Linked DNA regions of Homo sapiens: region 1 is linked to region 2. The links are contacts of gene promoters, found by promoter capture Hi-C in blood cells and fetal thymus (Javierre and others, 2016). All regions are on one chromosome and are shown on one strand. Each heading gives the region's core, a stretch centred on a gene start or on the middle of the fragment in contact. The rest is flanking DNA. Distances are from core to core; before and after follow the strand shown. Region 1 overlaps NUDT7 (nudix hydrolase 7). Region 2 holds the start of CMC2 (C-X9-C motif containing 2).

Region 1 (4,376 bases), core at 1,877-4,376, 3.3 Mb after region 2:
CAGTGAGCTGAGATCACGCCACTGCACTCCAGCCTGGGCGACAGAGCGAGAATCCTTCTGAAAAAAAAGAAAAACTTGTTCGAGGTTCCAGAGCTAGTGGGAGATTGCACATTTGAGAAGGGTTAACCCACTTCTTGCCTTGCTTTCCCCATCCACTGGGGGGAAATCTCCTACCAGCGCCCTGCTTGTGTGAGGGGCAGAGCTCCAGTAGAGCTCCAGAGGGAATTTCTCACCCCTACAGCCAGATAGTGTTTACAATCAGATTGAATTAAATTTAAATAGTTTTTAAAAAGTGACCTTAATAATCAACAGGCAAAAGTGGCTCTGGGTGAAACAAAAGAAACTAGAGACCCCGTTGGTTGAGTTTGTAGTATTGTCTAGATTTCCTATATTATTGTTTGTTAGACAATTCTCTTTTATTTATTTATTTATTTTTATTTATTTATTCATTATTGAGATGGAGTCTTGCTCTGTTGCCCAGGCTGGAGTGCAGTGGCACGATCTCGGCTCAATGCAACCTCCACCTCCCAGGTTCAAGTGATTCTCCCTGCCTCAGCCTCCCCAGTAGCTGGGATTACAGGCACCCACCACCACGCCTGGCTAATTTTTTGTATTTTTAGTAGAGACAGGGTTTCGCCATGTTGGCCAGACTGGTCTCGAACTCCTGACCTCAGGTGATCCGCCCACCTCAGCCTCCCAAAGTGCTGGGATTACAGGCGTGAGCCACCGCACACGGCCATATCTGATAATTTTAAAAAATATATGTAAGTGCTTCTCCTGTGCTTATTGGCAGAGGTGGGAACAGACACTGGTCCCCTGGTTTCCATTTAAGTATTTCCCCCTGGAACCTGGATTTCTATCATGTCCTGAGTTCACGGCATTTCTGCCTGGCTCAGACCGAACACAATCCACACAAGTCTACTTCCACGTCCACAAAACTCCAGCTGATTCCTTGGCATTTTTTTTTTAAACAAAATACTTTTCATTATTCTGCTTAAAAAGCCTGTTAATATGGCTTATTTTCTTTTTGTACTTGGATAAGCTTAAAATGACTGCTTCACCAGCTTTTCCTTGGAAGTTCCCCACAGCAAGGGAAACTGACTGTGCTCACGGGTGTGGGGGTGGTAGAGTTTCGATATTTGTCCTTGCCCAAATCTCATGTTGAACTGGAGTCCCCAGTGTTGGAGGTGGGGTCTGGTTGGAGGTGACTGGATCACAGGGGCAGATTTCTCACGCATGGTTTAGCACCATCATCTTGGCACTGTCCCCATGATAGTGAGTGAGTTCTCATGAGATCCGGGGCCATTTAAAAGTGTGTGGTATTTCCCTGCTCTCTCTCTTGCTCCTGCTCCCCCTCTGCCATGATGGTACACTCCCTGAGGCCTTTCCAGAAACTGAGCAGATGCCTGTGTCATGCTTCCTGTACAGCCTGCAGAACCATGACTCAATGAAACCTCTTTTCTTTATAAATTACCCAGACTCAGATATTTCTTTTTCTTTCTTTCTTTCTTTTTTTGAGATGGAGTCTCGCTGTTCCTCAGGCTGGAGCGCAGTGGCACAATCTCGGCTCACTGCAACCTCCGCCTCCTGGTTTCAAGTGTTTCTCCTGCCTCAGCCTCCTGAGTAGCTGGGATTACAGGTGTGTGCCACCATGCCTGGCTAATTCTTTTGTATTTTTAGTAGAGATGGGGTTTCACTATGTTGGTCAGGCTTGTCTCGAACTGCTGACCTCGTGATCCTCCCACCTTGGCCTCTCAAAGTGCTGGGATTACATGCTTGAGCCACCATACCCAGCCTCAGGTATTTCGTTATAGCAATGCAAGAATGGACCAATACAAGGGGTGAGCCAGAAACTCCATTCCCAGCCCATTATTTCTGTAAAGTGACATCATTTATCTTAAAACTTCAGGTCATGTCTGACAGGTCACTTGACACTAACGATGACAGCTAAAACTTACTGAATTCTTCCTTGCCAAGTACCTGGGTTATATAGGTGCTTTACATTTGTTACCCTGTGAAATGTTCATAGCAGCTGTATGAAGCAGTTACTAATATTTTGTCCTCATTTTACAAGTGAAAAGACTGAAGTACAGAGAGGGCAAGTAACGAGGCCAAAGTCACAGCTGGCAAGGAGAGAGCCTGGATTCAACGTGGACAGCTAGCTTTAGAGCCTAGGCCGTTAACTTCTATGCTCTAGTATTTTCACATTATACTGGGGGTGGGATAGTCTAAAACAGTGGCCCTTGGTGGGGGGCAATTTGGCACCCCCAATCCTGCCAGGATAGTAGGCAATTCTGAAGACATTTGTGGTGTGTGTGCTACTGGCATACTGGACAAAGGGACAAAGGTGTGTGTGAGCTTGTGTTTGTGTGTGCTACTGGCATCTGGTGGGTAGAGGCCAAGGATGATGGTAAACACACCACATTATACAGGACAGCCTCCACACCAAAGAATTATTCAGCCCCAAATGCCAATAGCACCAAGGTTAGGTAACCCTAGTGTGAAAGCGTTTTAAACTGCTTGCTAGCTAAATTCCTTCATTTTCTTGTTAAACCTTCTCCAAGAAACACCATGTTATCCTGTGGCTTGTGGTTGTATGCCTCTGACATCACAATTTTGAAAGCCCTTTTGAGAATTTTGGCATCAAAGTGTGTGCAAGTGACAAAATCTCGTGAGGTCTTCTGATGTCCTGAGGTTTAAGGGCAGGAAATTTTTTGTCCACCTACCTTCTCTGACCGGACGGTGAACAACAAATGGAGTTTTCCTTCTTTAGCCACCAATGGCAAAAGGACGGAGTATTTGTTATATGGCAAGTGAGAATATTTGCCTCCAATATCATACTTTCTTAAGCGGGCCTTAGCATCATCTAGCAAACTGTTTCTAAAATAAAAACAAACCAGACAGACATTTTAGCAAGCAGAGTTATGGTAAAAAGCTTATAGTCCTGCCTCTGTTTCTGCTTTGTTGTGTATTTAGGAGTTTGCCATTTCTGACTCTCTGTGTATTTTTCAATAACACGACAGAAATGATACTATCTAAATTGCGTGGTTGTTCGCAAGATGAAAATGACAAAAAAACCTTCTAAGCACACAGTTTAGTACACAGGTTCTCTTTGAAACATAAAGTATGGTAAAATGTTTTTTCAATAATGCAACAGTTGAATTTTGAAACCCATAATTATATTCAGAGAAGACAGGTTTGATGAAAAAGTCATTGTTAAGGTTAGAAGGTTAGAAGACTACCTTCTGTTAAGCTGGCCCTTATGTTCTCAAACTCTTATGTCTTCAACTGCTTATAATAGTGGTTCCCAAGCTTTAGCAGCAACAGAATCACCTGGAGCGCTGGCTGTCACATAGACTGCGAGGTTCAGTCCCAGACTGTGACTCAGTAACTCTGGTGTAGGGCCTGAGAATTAGCATTTGTATCAAACTCCCTCATGACAGCGTTACTGACGCTGTGGACAGGGGAACACATTCTGAGAACAATTTCCCAATAATATGCAAGCATTTGGATTTAAAACCGCAAATGGTGCCCTTCCTATGTGGACTTGTTTTGGTCCTTTTGACAGGTGTGTTCTACTGCTAGTTTGTATAGTGGGTTGAACAGTATCCCCTCACCCCTGAAATTCATGTCTACCCCAAACTTCAGAGTGTGACTTTATTCAGAAATAGGATCTTTTCAGATGTAATTAAAGTGAGCTCTAAATCCAATGACTGTTGTCCTGATAAGAAGCAGAAACGAGCCCAGTGCAGCGGCTCACGCCTGTAATCCCAACACTGGGAGGTTGAGGCGGGAGAATTGCTTGGGCCCAGGAGTTTGAAACCAGCCTGGTCAACATGGTAAGACCCTGTCTCTACAAAAGAAAAAAAAAAAAAGCATAAATTAGCTTAGGCATGGGGCATGCAACTGTATTCCCAGCTACTTGGAAGGCGGAAGTGGGAGGATCACTTGAGCCCCAGAGTTCAAGGCTGCAGTGAGCCATGATTGCACCACTGCACTCCGGCCTGGGTGACAGAGTGAGACCTGACTCAAAAATAAAATAAAATAAAAGAAGAAAAAACATGGAGAGATGCACACAGGGAAGAAGACCATGTGAAGATGGCGGCAGAGGTTGAAGTGATGCTGCTGTGAGCCAAGGAATGCCAGAAACCACCAGAAACTGGAAGAGGCAAGGAAAGGTCACCCCCAGAGCCTTCTAAGGGAGTGAGGCCCTGCCGATACCTTGATTTTGGACTTCCAGGCTTCATAGCCATGAGAGACCATTTCTATTGTTTTAAAACACCCAGTGTGTGGTACTCTGTTATGGCAGCCCTAGAAAAGGAACAGCTGATTTTACTTTTTCTGTGGGAAGGCAGCTTTGCATAGTGGGCAGAATC
Region 2 (4,812 bases), core at 754-3,253:
TATCTTTTTAACTTTTCTTGTTTCTAAAATTGAGCTCCAGGGCAGGACGATGTTTTTATTCACAGCTATACTCCTAGACCAGAACTGCCTCACTATAGTCAGTAAGTCTAATCAGGCCAAGAACAGTCTAATGTGTCTTTGATAAATACTTGTGGAATGAATGCCTGAGGAGACAACCTGGGTGGTTTGGGGTTCAACAGTCAGTGAAACATCAAATCAACACCTCTCCCATTAAGAACACGGGCGAGGGGCCGGGAGCGCGCCGGGCGTGGTGTATCACTTGAGGTCAGTCGTTCAAGACCACCCAGGCCAACATGGTGAAACTCCGTCTCTACTAGAAATACAAAAATTAGCCGGGTGTCGTGACGCACACCTCTAGTCCCAGCTACTCGGGAGGCTGAGGCAAGAGAACAGCCTGAATCCGGGAGGAGGAGGTTGCAGTGAGCCGAGAACGTGCCACTGCCCTCCAACATGGGCGACAAAGCAAGACTCCGTCTCAAAAAAACAAAAAACAAACAAAAAAACCCACAGACGAGGCTACCCGTTAAAATGAAGATTCCTGGGCCCTATCAAATTAAACTGTGAGGAGGGCGCACGGAGGGCTTGAGATTTAGCATCTTTTAAAAAGTACGTCAGATGATTTATTCCGGGTAAAGTTTGCAGAACGCCAGTCTAAAGAAATTTGGTAGAGCGCCCTCAGTCTCACCAATTAAGACGGAAATCCCTTTAGTAAACGTTTACCCCGTGACCATTTTTAAACTTTCCTTTTTTTGTTGTTTCGGAGACACAGTCTCGCTTTGTCGCCCAGGGTGCAGTGCAGTGGCGCGATCTCGGGTCACTGCAACCTCCGCCTCCCGGGTTCATGCGCTTCTCCTGCCTCAGCCTCCCAAATAGCTGGGATTACAGGCACCCGATACCACGTCCGGTTAATTTTTGTATTTTTAGTAGAGACGGGGTTTCACCATGTTGGCCAGGCTGGTCTCGAACTCCTGACCTAAGGTGATCCGCCCACGTCGGTCTCCCAAAGTGTTGGGATTACAGGCGTAAACTACCGCGCCTGGCCCCATTTTAAAACTTTCTTTATACTTCCTAGCGTTTTAGTGTCTGACATACAGTAGATGCTCAAGATCTGTGGAACGCATGATCAAAAAGATCCATTTTAAGTAACGTTCCCGTAGCCACACACCTCTGCTGCGCTCCAACAGGCAATGCGAGGAGCAACGCAAGAGGGTACAGGGACAAAAAACGACGGAAGCCGAGGTGACAGAAAAGCAAAACCCCAACTCTGGGAAAGGAAGCAACCCCAGGATCGTAGAGCGGAGCCCCTGGTCACATGACCACACGGCCCTCCCCTGACGCAGTCGCGAGCCTACGAAAGGCTCCACCCGCCCCACCGCGGGCGAGGTGACGTCACAGCCGGCACAGCGCCACCGCCCCCTCACCTCGGCCCGAACCGTAGTTCCTCGCCCCGAGCCCGAGACCCAGCGCCAATCCTGCGCCTCACAACGTGCGACAATTGCGAAAAAGCCACCCCCGAGGCCTGGGATCTGGCTTCCTCAAGGCCCCACACCCTCCGGGGCCCGATCCAGTGCCGCCCGGGGCTCTCTTACCGGCCCACATCTCCTGCAGTCTCACTCCTCAAGAGCTGTTCCCGCTCGCCGCGCCTTCAAAGCCACCAATTGCAGTTCCCGCCGCCTCCAAGCTCCGCCCACCGGAGCACAAGCATCAGGCTGTGTCTTGGGCACAGGGGACTGCACGGGGGAGCGACTGAAGCGAAGGTCGCCGAGCCCCCCACGCCGCTCTTCTTAGAAGTGTGCAACCTTGCACCAGTAGTGGACTTACACATAGGCTCCGTTAGGACCTGGCTTATGTGCTCGGCTTGTGGCTTAGACGCTGCCGTGCCCCAGTGGACTCACTGTGCCTCCCCCCACGACGGACGGAAATGGGCCCCTCCAGGACAGGCGGCGCATGCGCCTTGGGGCCCGCGGGCGGCGGGGGCGAGGAGCCGGGAGCACGGTGGAGCGGTGGAGGGCGTCACTGGGTTTCGGCGTCTGGCAAGCGGTTCAGCTGTCTGCTCCCTAGCAGCCGGCCTTCGGGTCGGGCGTCTCCGCCGGCTACTGCCGCTTCAGTTCTCCCGGTGTGGCCACGAGTCGGGTGAGTCTCGGGAGTCCAGGCCGTTCCGAACGCGTTCCGTTGTTCCTCCTCAGGTCCCTGATGGCGCGTCCCGCCGAGCCCCTTCCTGCCGCCCGTCGGCCCCAGGAGGTGGGGACCAGGAAGACCCGGCTGCCGCAGGCCCACAGCCGGGCTGCTGCGCTGGGGAGGCTGCGAGCGAGGTGGCTGGGCGCTCGCTGGAACACGCTGGTGGCCGAGACAGGCCGTGGGCGTCGCTCGGGGTTGGGATCCGCCCGCCACTCACTCAACTGGCTGGTGACCTTGGGCGCGCTCCTCCCCTCCCGGAGCCGGGGCTTCCTCGCCGGTAAAATGGACCTTGAGGAATGGAGCCCTCAACACAGGGTTTGACACGATGAGCGCCCAATAAAGTGTTGTTATTGTTGTTTATCTAGCAATTGAGAATTTGCGGGTAGAAAACGGGGGCCGTTCAAGCAAGTCTCAGCTGCAGTGCCCTGTGATGTGAGAACCCACCAAGAGCCCCATCAGTACACTTTACTCTTTTTTCTCCTTTAATGCTTTTTTTTTCCAGGAAAGTAATACATTCATCTTGCTTTTCTTGCGTTTAAAGATCAGGCGTTTTACGTAGAGTCTTAAGTAAATCAGTTTTGGAAGTCTTCATTTAAAACCTCAAAGGCATGGAAGTTTTCGATGGCAAAGGAATTATGTTGTGATGCCATTCGTATCTCCTCTCCTTTATATGTATGGCTTTTGCACTTGTTTAGTTGATTTAAAATGAGTTTCTTTTTCATCCTTTTCCTACTGCGTTGAGGCCTGAACTAGTTGTCAGTTTCTGACATTCCGCGAACATCGATTGGGCATTTACCATGTGCATTGGCAAGAATGCTCCCTCACGAGCCTGTGCGTTCCTTGAGATGTGTGAACGAGTATTTTCCTCTGAAATTCACATGATTCTGGCAGAGTGCTAGGCACCTTGTAAGTCCTGGTAATGTTTATTCAGGGAAAGCTGCGAGGGCGCATTCTCTGAGAAACTCTTCGGTGGAAGTCAGAGTAGTTAAGCCCTTCTCCCTAGGCAGCACCCCCGGGTCCCTCCCAGAAGCAGCCTGGCATGGGGTCTACAGTGCCAGCGCCAGTCGCTTTCTTAGTGGTATCGGTTTAGAACTGGTCCTGTGATAAGTGGAAGTGGGCAGGGGAGGCCGTCCCCGACCGTGTCTGCGACCTCTGCTGCAGTATGGCTCATAGCTTGAAAAGTTGAAAAATAATTCTTTAATACCAGGGCCGAAATGTAGGCCTTAAAAATGTTTTATGTTATTTATTTATATATATATATATTTAAATTTTATTTTGAGACGGCGTCTTGTTTTGTCGCCCAGGCTGGAGTGCAGTGGCGCGATCTCGGCTCACTGCAACCTCCACCTCCCGAGTTCTAGTGATTCTCGTGCCTCAACCTCCTGAGTAGCTAGGGTTACAGGCCACGCCTGGCTAATTTTTGTATTTTTAGTAGAGACGGGGATTCACCATGTTGGCCAGGCTTGTCCTGACCTCAAGTGATCTGCCTGCCTCGGCCTCCCGAAGTGGTGGGATTACAGGCGTGAGCCACCGCGCCTAGCCTAAAAAGATATATTTTAGAAAGCGGAGTGTTTACAGTTTTTTTTTCTGGAGAACAGTTTCTTCAGACTCTGCACAACAGACTTTTCTGGCCTTGTTTTTTGCTTATTTTGCAGTAGCATTAGAAATTACAACTGTAGTGTAAATTTCCTGTGCAGCCGCACAATAGGAAAATCTTTCTAAAGAAAAGCCAACTGGCATTAAAATACAGGGTTCTTCCTTGTGATTATAGATTTGCTGAAGTGAGTTATTAGAATGCTTACCCGTTTTCTTTATACTAGAGTTAATACAGCGCTGGCTCTTGGTTTATTTTCTAAAATTGTGCCACCTGGTGGTTGAAATCTGTCTTAGACTACTCTTGAGGAAAATTGTACCTCAGAGTCAGTAGACAAAGATTGAAGGAGTGAGTAAAAGAAAGCTATAATTTTTATATCTTCACTAAGAGTACCCTACCGCTTCTACCCTCCCAGCTTACTCCCCAGGAAAAGTTAAAATTGCCCTTATGGGCCCCTTAGCTAGCTATCAAAACACATTTGACAGCTGAAAATTTTAAGGAATTTCAGTGGACTGTTTTGGTATCATTGTGTGCATACACAGTGGATGGGGCTGGATTGAGGAGGGAGGTGGTGGAATCGTGACAAGTTTACCTTTTTGATGTTTTCTTAAATGCCATTGTAAAGATGAGACTGACAAACTGATGGAAGTCAGAGTAGTTAAGCCTTCCTCCCCAGGCAGTCCCTGGGGTCGCTCCCAGGAGCAGCCTGGCTTGGGGTCTGCACTGGAATTAAATATTATTCTATTCAAATAATAACAGTTTGAATGGAATTTATCCCTCTCTATTTCACTGGAAACATCCAAGAACGAGGTCTTATGTTCCTTTCACTTTCGTTTCCACCATGCTGCTGATGTTCATAATTATTATTTTTTGAGATGGAGTCTCACTCTTTCGACCAGGCTAGAGTGCAGGTGGTGCCATCTCAGCTCACTGCAACCTCTGCCTCCAGGGCTGAAGCGATTCCCCTGCCTCAGCCTCCCAAGTAGCTGGATTACAGGCCCCCACCACCACGCCCAGCG

The links. The method cuts DNA at HindIII sites, captures the fragments that hold promoters and counts their contacts. A CHiCAGO score of 5 or more calls a contact.
Region 1: a contact is called between a fragment that was not itself captured here and the fragment with the promoter of CMC2 in region 2, in 1 of 17 cell types (non-activated CD4 T cells). The highest score is 6.1, in non-activated CD4 T cells.

The regions. Positions count from the first base shown.
Region 1 is chr16:77,723,935-77,728,310 of GRCh38, reverse strand. NUDT7 (nudix hydrolase 7) reads right to left here. Exons shown (of 4, transcript NM_001105663.3): 2 at 2,727-2,880. Among named protein-coding and RNA genes, the nearest start is that of NUDT7, 3.6 kb to the right of the region's middle. The HindIII fragment of the contact is 377 bases long and covers 2,938-3,314 here.
Region 2 is chr16:81,004,076-81,008,887 of GRCh38, reverse strand. CMC2 (C-X9-C motif containing 2) reads left to right here and starts at 2,003. Exons shown (of 4, transcript NM_020188.5): 1 at 2,003-2,154. It overlaps CENPN (centromere protein N), which reads right to left and starts at 1,674. Exons shown (of 11, transcript NM_001100624.3): 1 at 1,611-1,674. RefSeq lists enhancers at 1,166-1,305, 1,616-1,725, 4,589-4,678 and a silencer at 1,896-2,265. The HindIII fragment of the contact is 14,741 bases long and covers 1-4,812 here.